Regions from separate parts of the Homo sapiens genome. Here region 2 is linked to region 1. Evidence: promoter capture Hi-C in human tissues and cell types (Jung and others, 2019). All regions are on one chromosome and are shown on one strand. The core of a region is centred on a gene start or on the middle of the fragment in contact, and the rest is flanking DNA. Distances in the headings are between cores, read along the strand shown.

Region 1 (6,686 bases), core at 2,098-4,597:
AAAAATTACCATCCTATACTTTTAAAGTTTCAGAATCATCAATCTGAAAGATAGTACAAACTATTAAAATGGTTTACAAATGCCCATTACACATTTCCACCTTTATCTCCAACTACTTCAGCACCATCACCCACCCTGTGGGCACAAATGTACTCAAACCACACCTGACAACCCCTTACACAATGCTAAAATCTTAACTTCTTTAGTCTATCCAACCCTCCCTAACTCTATGCCAGAAAACAGACTTTGGTTTTGATAATACAGCAGGCCCAGCAAAAGTCAGTCATCAGTTTAGAGGTCCTCTCCTCTTTCCCCACTTCAACTGATTTTTGGTCTAATTTGGCCAAGCATTTCACCATTCTATAGTCCCATGACCTATGTATTCCAGATTTAGGCTGAGAAAATATGGATCTTTCTTTCTTTATTTTTTTTTTTGAGATGGAGTTTCGCTCTTGTCTCCCAGGCTAGAGTGGAATGGTGTGATCTCAGCTCACTGCAACCTCCGCCTCCTGGGTTCAAGCGATTCTCCTGCCTCAGCCTCTCGAATAGCTGGGATTACAGGCGCCCGCCACCATGCCCAGCTAATTTTTGTATTTTTAGTAGAGACGGGGTTTTGCCATGTGGGCCAGGCTGGTCTCGAACTCCTGACCTCAGGTGATCCGCCTTCCTTGGACTCCCAAAGTGCTGGGATTACAGGCATGTCACCACACCCAGCTGGATCTTTCTTTAATTTATAATTAATCTTGGCCGGGCACTGTGGCTCACACCTGTAATCCCAGCACTTTTGGAGGCCGAGGCAGGAGGATACCCTGAGATCAGGAGTTCAAGACCAACCTGGCCCACACGACAAAACCCCGTCTCTACTTAAAATACAAAATTTAGTTGGGCATGGTGGCAGGCGCCTGTAATCCCAGCTACTAGGAAGGCTGAAGCAGGAGACTTTGACCCCGGGAGGCAGAGGTTGCAGTGAGCTGAGATTGCGCCACTGCATTCCAGCCTGGGCGACAGAGCAAGACTGTGTCCCAAAAATAAAAAATAAAAATAAAAAATAATTTATCACTGCTCCATGTTTTTCTCATACAATTGTTTACACTGTGATATAATCAACATACTATAAACTCTACCCTTTTAAAATGTACAATTCAGTAGTTTTTAGTATATTCAGAGTTGTGCAACCATCACCACTGATTTTAGAACATTTCTTATTTTTTGTTTTTTATTTTTTTATTTTTAGAGACAAGGTCTTACTATGTTGCCCAGGCTGGTCTCGAACTCCTGGACTCAAGCAATCCTCCAGCCTCGGCAACTCAAAGTGCTGGGATTACAGGTGTGAGCCATCTCACCAGGCCCTGATTTTAGAACATTTCATTATCCCAAAAAGAATATTCTCACCTACACCGCCAGTCCCCCAACCTCTGGCAACCATTAAGCTTTCTGTCTCTAGATTTACCTACTCTGGCCATTTCATATAAATGGAATCACACAATATGCAGTCTTTCTGACTGACTTAGCTCACGTAGTGTGATGTTTTCAAGGTTCATTCATATTGTAGCATGCATCAGCAGTTCATTCCTTTCTAAGGCCAAATAATACTCCATTGAATGAATATATTAACACCATATTTTGTTTATCGATGCATCAGTCGTTATGTCCTTACAACATTCCTGTATTCGAATAAAGAACCAGGGCTCCAAGAGGTTCACTCACTTTATAACTCAAATAATAAAATGACATTTGGGGCCGAGCGCAGTGGCTCACGCCTGTAATCCCAACACTTCGGGAGGCCGAGGGGCAGGGGAAAGGGGGATCACTTGAGGTCAGGAGTTCAAGACCATCCTGGCCAACATGGCGAAACCCCGTCTGTACTAAAAATACAAAAATTAGCCGGGTGTGATGGCCGGCGCCTGTAATCCTAGCTACTCGAGAGGCTGAGGCAGGAGAATCGCTTAAACCGGGAGGCGGAGGTTGCAGTGAGCCGAGATGGCACCACTGCACTCCAGCCTGGGCAACAGAGCGAGACTCCAACTCAAAAAAAAAAAAAACAAAAAAAACGACATTTCTACTTTTTGGCGATTATGAATAATGATGCTATGAACATGGGCGGACAAGCTTTATGTGAACATACGTTATCAGTTTTCTTGGGTATATAGCCAGGAGTGGGCTTGCTGGGTCATAGACTAATTCTAATGCTTAATGTTTTGAGGAACTACCAAACTATTTTCCACCATTTTACATCCCCACCAGCAATGTACGAGAATTTCACTATTACATTTTCAACAAATGAGGATAATTCTTGAACGAACAGAGAGGTATGCTGCCACCGCAGAACGACAACCCACTACCCAGAAGACTGTATTAACAAAGCAGAAGTATATGTCCGGCAGGAAAACGGAGAATAAAATGTTGCAGGTCCAAGTGTATTAGGCAAGTGAGTTAACCTCGCAGAGCCCCGGTTCCTTATTCGAAAACAAAAAAAAGGGCCGCTGTAATGCCATTTTACCTTGCAGTCGCCGTGAAAATTAAATCAGTCAATCCGCGTAAAGGTACTTTACAACACTGATTATTCATGATTCGATCTCAGGCAAGGCATTAGGGGCAAACAGCTAAATGCCCAGATCCCTCCTCCTCGCAAAGGTTCCTTCCCCTCGGGAGGGTCCCTGAGCGGCATCGGGGGCTGCAGCCACTTCCCTTCCCCGGGAGAGCCGGCCTGCCAGCCACGCAGGATAAATTGCTAGAGCTGGAGCAGTAGATCCGTGCCACCCCTACCCAGCACCGCTCCCAGGAGAGAGATCTGCAGCCTGCTGCTAAGCTTAGTAAGTCCGCGCAGGATCTTTCTTTTTTAAATGGTAATAAACATATTTTTTGGGGTCGAAGCAGAAAAGGAGGGGCAAAGGGAACACAAGCATGTCCCCCCAACCTCTGATCTTAGTCTCGGTCTCTCCAACACCCCCCGCAACACACCCTCCTCCACATAAGGAAAACAAGTATGAAACCCGATCCTTTACGAACCCCAGCCCCAAGGGCCCTCACCTCCCCGCAAGGACAGAGGGTGCAAAGCTTACCTGGTGGCTTCCTCCGGCTCGACCAGGCTCTGGCCAGGCGCCTCCCGAGGGATAGTAGCCATCGCCTCCTCCGCCTTCTCCCAGCCAGGTGGTCTCCGCCGGGCCGCCCCCGCGCACCCGCCAGGAAATGGGAGGCTGGGGAGGTTCAGGGCGAAGAGGATATAAGGGTGGAGGTGGGTGTACCGGCACATCTCCACCCCCAGGCCCGTAGTAGCGGCCGTAGGACGGACCGTCACTGGGGCCGTAGCCCGAGCGCCTCAGGGCCGACATGGGATCCGCTGCCCTGAAGCGCTTCCCGCCCCGCTCCCCACGGCCGACCCATCGCGCAGGCGCCCGCGGGCGATTGCGAATGGAGAGCAGCGAAGGGGGTCGGACGACGCCAGCCAATCCCAGGCCCGGGCCCGCCCCTTCTGCTGCCGAACCCCGAAAGCTGAGGGACGGAGGTCAGTGACTCTGGGGTCTCGGGAACCCGGAGACGAAGGAAGACACCGTGTTCCTTAAGAGGGAGTATACGTTTCCTCGCCATTTATCCAATGGAGTTTCCTCTTACCTACTTAACAGGAACAGGGAAAGGGTGTCCCCCAACGGTACGGCTGCCCCGCCTCTTCCTGGGGGCCCACACGTGTTACAGGAAGTGGGTAAGGGTAATATGGAGGAGCTTCCGGCAGCCCCCGGCGGCTGAAAGCCGGGGCAGAAGTGCTGGTCTCGGTCGGGATTCCGGGCTTGGTCCCACCGAGGCGGCGACTGCGGTAGGAGGGAAGAGGTTTTGGACGCGCTGGCCTCCCGCCGCTGTGCATTGCAGCATTATTTCAGTTCAAAATGAACTATATGCCTGGCACCGCCAGCCTCATCGAGGACATTGACAGTGAGTAGTTTATCTCCTCCCGGTGGAGCCCGGGGTTAGACCCTTCCTCCCGGGCGGGCGCCTCTTCCGAAGAAGCTTGTAGAATGAGTCCCGGGCGGGGCCGGTGTGTTCTGAGCTCAATCCGGGCGTTCCGCGTCGATGTCCTCCACAGCTGCGGTACACACCGCTTGCCCACCCAGTAGCCTGCTGCTACTTCTGCCCCTCGCAGCCTCCGCCAGCCCTCTAGCTGGTGAGCCCCAAGCGATGGAACTCATTCTTGCTTCCGTGGATCGCGGCAGCAGAGGCCCGAACACGAAAGAAGCCCGGGGAGGGGGGGGGCTTCTCCCCCGTCCACTCCTGCCTGCAGTATTTCGAAGTATCAGCGTGTTACCGGTGGATGGATCGGAATACCTAGAGAGAGGATTCATTAAAAAGCGAAAATATTAAGACAGCGGCAGTTGGACTTAATTGGCAGTAAATGTAGGCGCTCTACGGTGTGGCCATTTGCTAGCTTATTTTACTGTGAGGGTCATTAGCACCTTCAGGTTATTGTAGTAGAGACCACTGTTAGACATGGTATTGACTTTTCTGGAAAGACCAAATCACTTGCAACCTTTTTTTTTTTTTTAAGACAATTTACTTTTGCTTTTACTAAGAAGACCTCCCTTATTCCTGGTTTTTGTCCGGAAGAGGAGCTCAGTCCTATACAAAAGCGAAAAGAACCGTCTGCAGTTGTTCTGGCTTTCCTTTTTTCTAAATTCCGTCTGTGCATTATTCCTCAAGCAACATTTTTTATTGTTTTAATCATGTGATCTTTCTCATTAACTTGTTTCAAGATGATTTACACATAGTTTTAAATAAGTTGCAATCGTCTCAGTTACTCTGTGAATACGCAATTTAGAATCTATGGTTAAAATTTCATTTTACGGGCCTGGCGCGGTGGCTCACGCCTGTAATCCCAGCACTTTGGGGGGCCGAGGCGGGCAGATCGCCTGAGGTCGGGAGTTCAAGACCAGCCTAGCCAACATGGTGAAACCCCGTTCCTACAATTAGCTGGGCACTATGGCGGTGCCTGTAATCCCAGCTACTCGGGAGGCTGAGGCGGGAGAATCGCTTGAACCCGGGAGGAGAAGGTTGCAGTGAGCCGAGATCGCACCATTGCACTCCAGCCTGAGCGACAGAGCAAGACTCCGTCTCAAAAAAAAAAAAAAAATCATTTTATGGTTGACAGATCTTTTTTCTTTTCTTTTCTTTTTTTTTTTTTTTTTTTGAGACAGAGTCTTGCTCTGTCGCCCAGGCTGTAGTGTGCAGTGGCGCGATCTCGACTCACTGGAACCTCCACCTCCCGGGTTTAAACAATTCTTGTGCCTCAGCCTCCCAAGTAACTGGGATTACAGGCGCCTGCCAGCACGCCCAGCTAATTTTTGCATTTTTTGGTAGAGACGAGGTTTCGCCATGCTGGGCAGTCTGGTCTCCAACTCCTGACCTCAGGTGATCCACCCACCTCGGCCTCCCAGAGTACTGGGATTACAGGCGTGAGCCACCGCCTCCGGCCGACAGATCATTTTTTTAAACACAAATTACTTATTGTGCTATGTAAGGGAAATGTAGTGTAATTGGACTAAATATATATTAACATCTATATGAACCTGTTACGTGTAACAGGATGTTTTAGTTGCTCGAGGATGCTCTTTTGCCCTCATCTCTCCTTATATATCCTCTAACACATCCTGCCATTTTACTAAAAATCAGTTTTGCTCTTTGGTCCTCTAACCCCTACCTCTTTGTAGATTCCAGACCCCCTACTTTATGAAAACTTTGAAGCCATTTGATATGCACCCTTTGCTCCCCAACCCTAACACACAGTTTCCTCCTTGTGTTTCTGTATTTTCACCCATCCTTTAATTTGAGTAGGAAGGATTCCTCCCTTTTTGTCTGTCTGTTGTTACTGTCTCCTCTCACTGCTTCTGGAACCTTTTTTCGTTGTTAGCCTTTTTCTTTTATATCCTCTGTCTCCCCAACCCCTGCGTTCTTCCCCTCATGTGTTACTGTCTATCCATCTCAAATATTTTCTCCGTTCTCTTCATATGCCCATCCCTTTTTTCATATCTTTATCCCCAAACCTCGAGTCATTTTCATTTTGTCTGTTTCTTGATCACCTTCAATAGACTACTTACATTACTCCTGCAATCTAATTTTTATCCTGAAATTACTCAAGCTGCATTCTTCAAAGTTATTCGTCTAAGGTCTTCTTCTGTGTTCTCTCCCCTTTGCAGCACTGTGATACTCTCCCCACCAGATTCTTTAATTCTCTTCTCTTGATTTCTCTAACAACTGGTACTTGGTGATTTTCTTACTTCTCTGGCTCTTACTGTTCTCCAAAATAGATGGTCACTTGGATTACATGTGGCCTACTTCTTTAAATCTTTAGTAGATCTCCTGTACTTTAGTTTTTTATATCACCTCTTTGTAGATTTATCCAAAATTGCTTTCTCTAATCTTGATGTCTTTGGTTTTCCAGTCTTACTGTTTCCAACTATCTGCGTGTGTTTCTATTAAGTGTCCTGATAGCACTTTAGAATCACAAAGAGCTAATAACCTTCACCCTGAGCTTGCTGCTTTTATTCCCAACTCTTGGTAAATAGTTTTGTGATGTCTCATAAAACTCCTACATCTTTACCTCACATCTTCAGCACCCCACCCTCTCACACATACCCACTTATACAAACTCAGTAAACAGACTCCATCACTTAATGTTTTCTTGTTCCCTATGAAGTCAA
Region 2 (6,686 bases), core at 1,723-4,222, 200 kb before region 1:
TGTGTTGGAAGCTTTCATTGCTTAAAAAAAAAAAAAAGAAAAAGTTTATTTTTATGTATGCAGCATCCTTTAAAGATCAGGGTTCCTGCCCAGCTGTCATAAGTATCCTGGTTCCTTGGACAGGTATTCATATACGAAGAAGCCTACTCTTGTTAAATAACACTTATAACCAATTAATATGTCCATCAGCCCACCTGTTACCTGTGTTGGCTTTTTTTTTTCTTTTTTTCCCTAACCCTTAAATTAACAAATGCCGTCTCTTACACTGATCAGATTGAATGAGTTTTGGATAAAGGAAACTGTCTTTGAGATTGGTGATTGTTGAGTGAACTGTCAAATCTGATTCTAATGACAGCGTTTCTGGAATTTATAATAATATTCATAATCCACTAATAGCTGCTCACAGTTGTCCTCACACTGTGCTATGCTGAGTGTCTCACATGCATGATTTCCTTTTATCCTCCTAACAGTTTTATGAAGTTAGTACTTTTTTTTTTTTTTTTTTTGAGAGATGGAGTCTCACTCCTGTTGTCTAGGCTGGAGTGCAATGGTGCGATCTCGGTTCAATACAACCTCCACCTCCCAGGTTCAAGTGATTCTCGTGCCTTAGCCTCCCGAGTAGCTGGGATTACAGGCACACGCCACCATGCCCTTCTAATTTTTGTGTTTTTTTGTTTTTGTTTTTGTTTTGAGACGGAGTCTCGCTCTGTCACCCAGGCTGGAGTGCAGTGGCATGATCTTGGCTCACTGCAAGCTCCGCCTCTCGGGTTCACACCATTCTCCTGCCTCAGCCTCTGGAGCAGCTGGGACTACAGGCGCCCGCCACCACGCCCTGCTAATTTTTTGTATTTTTTAGTAGAGACAGGGTTTCACGGTGTTAGCCAGGATGGTCTCGATCTCCTGACCTCGTGATCCACCCGCCTCGGCCTCCCAAAGTCCTGGGATTACAGGCGTGAGCCACCGTGCCCGGCCAATTTTTGTATTTTTTTTAGTAGAGACAGGGTTTCACTATGTTGGCCAGGCTGGTCTCAAACTCCTGACCTCGTGATCTGCCCACCTTGGCCTCCCAAAGTGCTGGAATTACAGGCATGAGCCAACACGCCCGGCCAAGATGGAGTTTGTTTGTTTGTTCGTTTGTTTGTTTTGACACGGAGTTTCACTCTTGTTGCCCAGGTTGGAGTGTCTCAAAAAAAAAAAAAGTTATTCACATATTCACATATTACAGAAGGCTAAGAAGTTAAAAAAATAAAGTTAGCATTCTTCTCCACTGATAACCACTTGAAGTTTCTTGTATGTCCCTCTGGAAAACTTCTATGCATGTATGTGTATATTTCTCTTAAAATATTTTCAAATGGATCATACTATCTGCATTTTGCTTTTTTGTTTTTTTGTTTGTTTTTTGAGATAGTTTTGCTGTTGTTGCCCAGGCTGGAGTGCAGTGGCGCGATCGTGGCTCACTGCAGACTTCACCTCCCGGTTCAAGCGGTTCTTCTGCCTCAGTCTCCCGAGTAGCTGGGATTACAGGCATGCACCACCGTGCCGGCTAATTTTTGTATTTTTAGTAGAGACGAGGTTTCCCAAAGTGCTGGGATTACAAGCGTGAGCCACCGCACCTGGCCACTTTTTCATTTTAACAGCCTATCTGGGACATCTTTTTAAATTAGTACCTATGAATCCACGGCTGGGCGCAGTGGCTCACGCCTGTAATCCCAGCGCTTTGGGAGGGAGGCTGAGGCGGGCGGATTGCTTGAGGTCAGGCGTTTGAGACCAGTCTGGCCAACATGACGAAACACCCATCTCTACTAAAAATACAAAAATTAGCCAGGTGTGGTGGCGGCGCCTGTAATCGCAGCTACTCGGAAGGCTGAGATGGGAGAACTGCCTGAACCCCGAGGGGGAAAGCCGCAGTAAGCTGAGATTGCGCCACCGCACTCTAGCCTGAATGACAGAGCGAGATTCCGTCTCAAAAACAAAACAAGGCCAGGCATGGTGGCTCACGTCTGTAATTCCCGCACTTTGGGAGGCTGAGGCAGGAGGATCACTTGAGGTCAGGAGTTTGAGACCAGTCTGGCCAGCATGGTGAAACTCCCGTCTCTACTAAAAATACAAAAATTAGCCGGGCATGGTGGTGCGTGCCTGTAATCCCGGCTACTCCGGAGGCTGAGACAGGCCAATCGCTTGAACCCAGGAGGCGGAGGTTGCACTGAGCTGAGATTGTACCACTGCGCTCCAGTCTGGTAGGCAAAGCGAGACTCCGTCTCAAAAACAAAACAAAACAAAGAACAAAAACAATAAAAATTAGTACATATGGATCCACAGCTTTTTTTTTTAAAGAGTCTTGTAAGTATTTCATTGTTTAAAACATCGATTAACATTTAGTTTGTTAGCAGGTTTTGCTATTATAAGTAAATAATAGTTGGTCCTGAATTAAGTTCCTAATAGCCTGTTAAATGGAAGAGAGATAGTACAACTACTTTATTTTAGAAGAGAGAAAACTGAGGCCTATGGAAGTGAAGTCTGGGGCTTTTTTGACAAACCCGTTACTTGGTTCTTTACAGCACAACCTATTACTTCCTTAAAGTATTGGAGCTGCCTGGCCGGGCGCAGTGGCTCACGCCTGTAACCCCAGCACTTTGCGGGGCCAAGGCGGGTGGATCACCTGAGGTCAGGAGTTCAAGACCAACCTGGCCAACATGGTGAAACCCCGTCTCTACTAAAAATACAAAAAATTAGCCGGGCCCGGTGGTGTGCGCCTGTAATCCCAGCTACTCTTGAGGCTGAAGCAGGAGAATCGCTTGAACCCAGGAGGCAGAGGTTGCAGTGAGCTGAGGTCGCGCCATTGCACTCCAGCCTGGGCAATAAAAGCAAAACTTTGTCTCAAAAAAAAAAAAAGAAAGAAAGAATTAGAGCTGCCTATGAAAACTCAAGGTGAGGGGGCAAACTTAAGGTTAAGTATATTTAGTAGAAAGAGTTAAAGGGGAGTAAGCTGCAGTGAGGCAAGAGATCTTGTATTTTTTCATATTTTATTCACCATGTTGTGAACATATATGCATAAAATATTTTTACATGCAAAAATGAATTGTGTCCAAGTTATCTTGAGGTGTGTGTTTTTGTATGAAGTGGATTTTAGTGGACTTTTTCTTGTTTGAATAAAATTATCAATAAAATAAGATAGCGATGAAACGAAAAAAATTAGAGGTCCATCATGGTCTTAGAAAAGGACCTGGAAAAAAAATAGAGACATTGGTAAAAATTTTAAAGTGAGCTAAAAATCCCTATTTGAAAACAAGTTAAAAATCTTAGCATGGACTGTTGCTTACTTTATTTAATTTTTTTTTTCTATCAAGAAGAAAATGGGTTACTTATTCATTGGGATCTTTTAAAACAAAAAGATAGTCTTGTCTGTTGTAGATACTTCAGAAATTAAAATTGTTAAAACTTTAAAAATGCTTAGAACTTGGCATCTGTCCATAAAATCTGTTTTTCAATGCAATTCTGTTTTTAGTTTTACTTTTTTTTTAAAAGCAGTCTATTATTTTTTGAAAAAGCAACTAAGATGATTCATTTATTTGTTAATAAACATGTCCAGCATTTGAGTTTTTAAATGAATGGTGAACTTTATTTCTGCAGGCCAATCTTTTTATGAATTATATTTATAAGTTATAAATAATTATACTTATATTGTTATATTAACAAGGACAAATGTAAGAAATTGCTTATACTAACATTATCTAACCTTTTTTTAAAAAGCTTACAGTTTTGTTTTCATTTTTACTGTTGCTGTTAGTAAATATGTAATAAAGACTTTAAACACTTCTGTAGTATGTTGTACCTGCACTGTGTAGCATGAAAAGAAGGTAAAGGTATATTTTAAATTTTGTGGACTTAGAGAATGTTCAGTTTTTACCACATGGATGTGTTGTTACTCCTAAAGCACAACTTTTTTGATAAGATTTTGAATTTGAAAAAGCTCTTTGAAAAAGTATTCTTAGCTTGTTTTTTTAGATGTGGATCTTTATCGTCATTAACTGATCTACAGTGATAACTTTTCCCCCTTCTAATATTTAATTACTAGGTTCTTTTTTCCATCTACATTTAGGGCTACTTAGAGCAAGTGACTAGGAAAATGAAAATTGTTAATATTCATACTGTTTCAGTTTTAGCCATGTGTAGCATGGAAAGATAAAACATGAATAATACCTTACATTTATGTGGCATCTTCTGAGGTGTTTGGTAGAATTCCCACAGAATAACTTGGCTTTTTAAAAATGTGAAGTTAGAAAGCACAAGAATTATTATTTATTTATTTATTTTTAAATTTTTTTTTCGAGACAGAGTCTCCCTCTGTTGCCCAGGCTGGAGTGCAGGGGCGCGATCTCGGCTCACTGCAAGCTCCGCCTCCCGTGTTCGCGCCATTCTCCTGCCTCAGCCTCCCGAGTAGCTGGGACTACAGGCGCCCCCCAGCACGCCCGGCTAATTTTTTGTATTTTTAGTAGAGATGGGTTTTCACCGTGTTAGCTAGGATGGTCTCGATCTCCTGACCTCGTGATCCATCCACCTCGGCCTCCCAAAGTCCTGGGATTACAGGCGTGAGCCACTGCGCCCAGGCAAGAATTATTTAACTCAGTCTTAAGATGGGAAAATTAAGATTTCAGAGACCCCTTCAGGCCAAATAGACTGTCATGTTACGGAGAATAAAATTTTCAGATTTCCGTATAATTAATCTTTTCTCTTTTTTTGTGAGACAGGGTCTGGCTCTGTTGCCTCTGCTGGACTGAAACTCTTGGGCTCAAGCAGTCTTCATGTCTCAGCTTCTCTAGTAGCTGGGACTACAGGCAGGTGCCACTGCGCCGGGCTCTGTATGATTACTTAAAACAAATTAAGACTGTGTGTGTCCTGATTTTTCTTCATAGCTTATATTACCCACATTCTAATAGATAATTAAATATTAAGTAACAAGTATTTTTCTACATAGGTGTGCTTTTTCTTATTTTGGTGTAAGTTATATACATATTTCCTAAGATATATAGATTTATTTATTTTTTTTATTTTTAGAGACAGGGTCTTGCTCTCTTGCCCAGGCTGGAGTGTAGTGGCATGATCCTAGATCATTGCAGTCTTGAACTCCTTGGATCAAGCAGTTCTCCTAGCCTCATCCTCTGGAGTAGCTATGACTACACACATGTGCCACCCTGCCCAACTAATTTTTTTTTTTTTGAGACAGGGTCTTCCTCTACCACCTAGGCTGGAGTGCAGTGGCACAGTCATGGCTCACTGCAGCCTCAACTTCCCAGGCTCAGGTGATCCTCCCACCTCAGCCTCCTGAGTAGCTGGGACTACAGGCGTGTGCCACCACACCCAGCTAGTTTTGCTTTTTTTTTTTTTTTTTTTTTTTTTGTAGAGACAGAGTTTTGCCAAGTTGCCCAGGCTGGTCTTGAGCTCCTGGGCTCAACCAATCCTCCCACCTCGTCCTCCCAAAGTGTTGGGATTATAGGCATGAGCCACTGTGCTGGTCCCCCTAGCTATTTTTTAAAATTTTTTTGTAGAGATGGAGTCTCACTTTGTTGCCTGGCTGGCCTTGAACACTTGGCCTCAAGTGATCCTTATAGGGAGGCGTTTTAAATTTAAGAATGGGTAGCTTATTGGGATTTCATAGGTTAAAAAAATTAGTTTATCAAATTGATTTGAGATTAAGAAGATCATATGGAGATACTCCTAGTGGCATTTGGGCCATAGCCAAGACAATATTGTGTCTATTGAATCTTATGTTATCTAATTTCTCTTAGCTGTGGAGGCTTAAGAAAGCTATATGTAAAAAACAAACAAAAACTTTAAGAAATAGGCATTTTAAAGCCTTTTACGTTATGAAATGTGAAATATAAAAAAAAGCATATAAAACTTGAATGTACAGTATAAACAAATAATTAGGAAGTGAAAATACAAAAATTAGGCGTGGTGGCACACGCCTGTAATCCCAGCTACTCGGGAGGCTGAGGCAGGAGAATGACTTGAACAAGGGAGGCGTAGGTTGTAGAGAGCCAAGATTGCGCCACTGCACTCCAGCCTGAGCGACAAAGCAAGACTCTCCATCTCAAAAAAAAAAAGAAGTGAACATCGGGTAACTATCACCCAGGTAATAAGTCCTTTAAGAAAAGCTGCAGAGACAACCTCATTGGTTTAGCTGGTATTGCTTTGGTGGTAGTTGGACTTTAGGGACAAAAATGTATTGATGTCCTTGGTTTTTCTTTTTTCTTTTTTTCTTTCTTTCTTTTTTTTTTTTTTGAGAGGAGTCTCGCTGTGTTGCCCAGGCTGGAGGTCCAGTGGCGCAATCTCGGCTCACTGCAACCTCCGCGTCCCGGGTTCAAGCGATTCGCCTGCGTCAGCCTTCCGAGTAGCTCGACTACAGGTGCCCATCACCACACCCGGCTAATTTTTGTAGTTTTAGTAGAGACTGGGTTTCGCTATATTGGCCAGGCGTGAACCGCCGCGCCCGGCTGGTGGTTTTTTTTTTTTTTTTAATAATAGTAAGAACCTGCGGCCGGGCGCAGTGGCTCATGCCTGTAATCCCAGCACTTTGGGAGGCCGAGGCGGGCGGAGCACCTGAGGGGAGGAGTTGGAGACCAGCCTGGCCAACATGGCGAAACCCGTCTCTACTAAAACTACAAAAATTAGCCAGGCGTGGTGGC

What was found. Contacts are between HindIII fragments. The study calls those that stand out against the background at their distance.
Region 2: a fragment that was not itself captured here is called in contact with the fragment with the promoter of BAG4 in region 1 in 1 of the 25 tissues and cell types used here (hippocampus).

What each region holds. Positions count from the first base shown.
Region 1 is chr8:38,173,516-38,180,201 of GRCh38, reverse strand. It overlaps BAG4 (BAG cochaperone 4), which reads right to left and starts at 3,347. Exons shown (of 5, transcript NM_004874.4): 1 at 3,063-3,347. The coding sequence starts at 3,332. It overlaps LSM1 (LSM1 homolog, mRNA degradation associated), which reads left to right and starts at 3,709. Exons shown (of 4, transcript NM_014462.3): 1 at 3,709-3,927. The coding sequence starts at 3,882. RefSeq lists enhancers at 2,405-2,744, 3,655-3,804, 3,026-3,883, 4,215-4,304, 3,884-4,741. The HindIII fragment of the contact is 1,071 bases long and covers 2,460-3,530 here.
Region 2 is chr8:38,372,646-38,379,331 of GRCh38, reverse strand. All of the region lies in intron 1 of NSD3 (nuclear receptor binding SET domain protein 3), which reads left to right. Among named protein-coding and RNA genes, the nearest start is that of NSD3, 6.3 kb to the left of the region's middle. RefSeq lists an enhancer at 819-1,320. The HindIII fragment of the contact is 6,266 bases long and covers 1-6,105 here.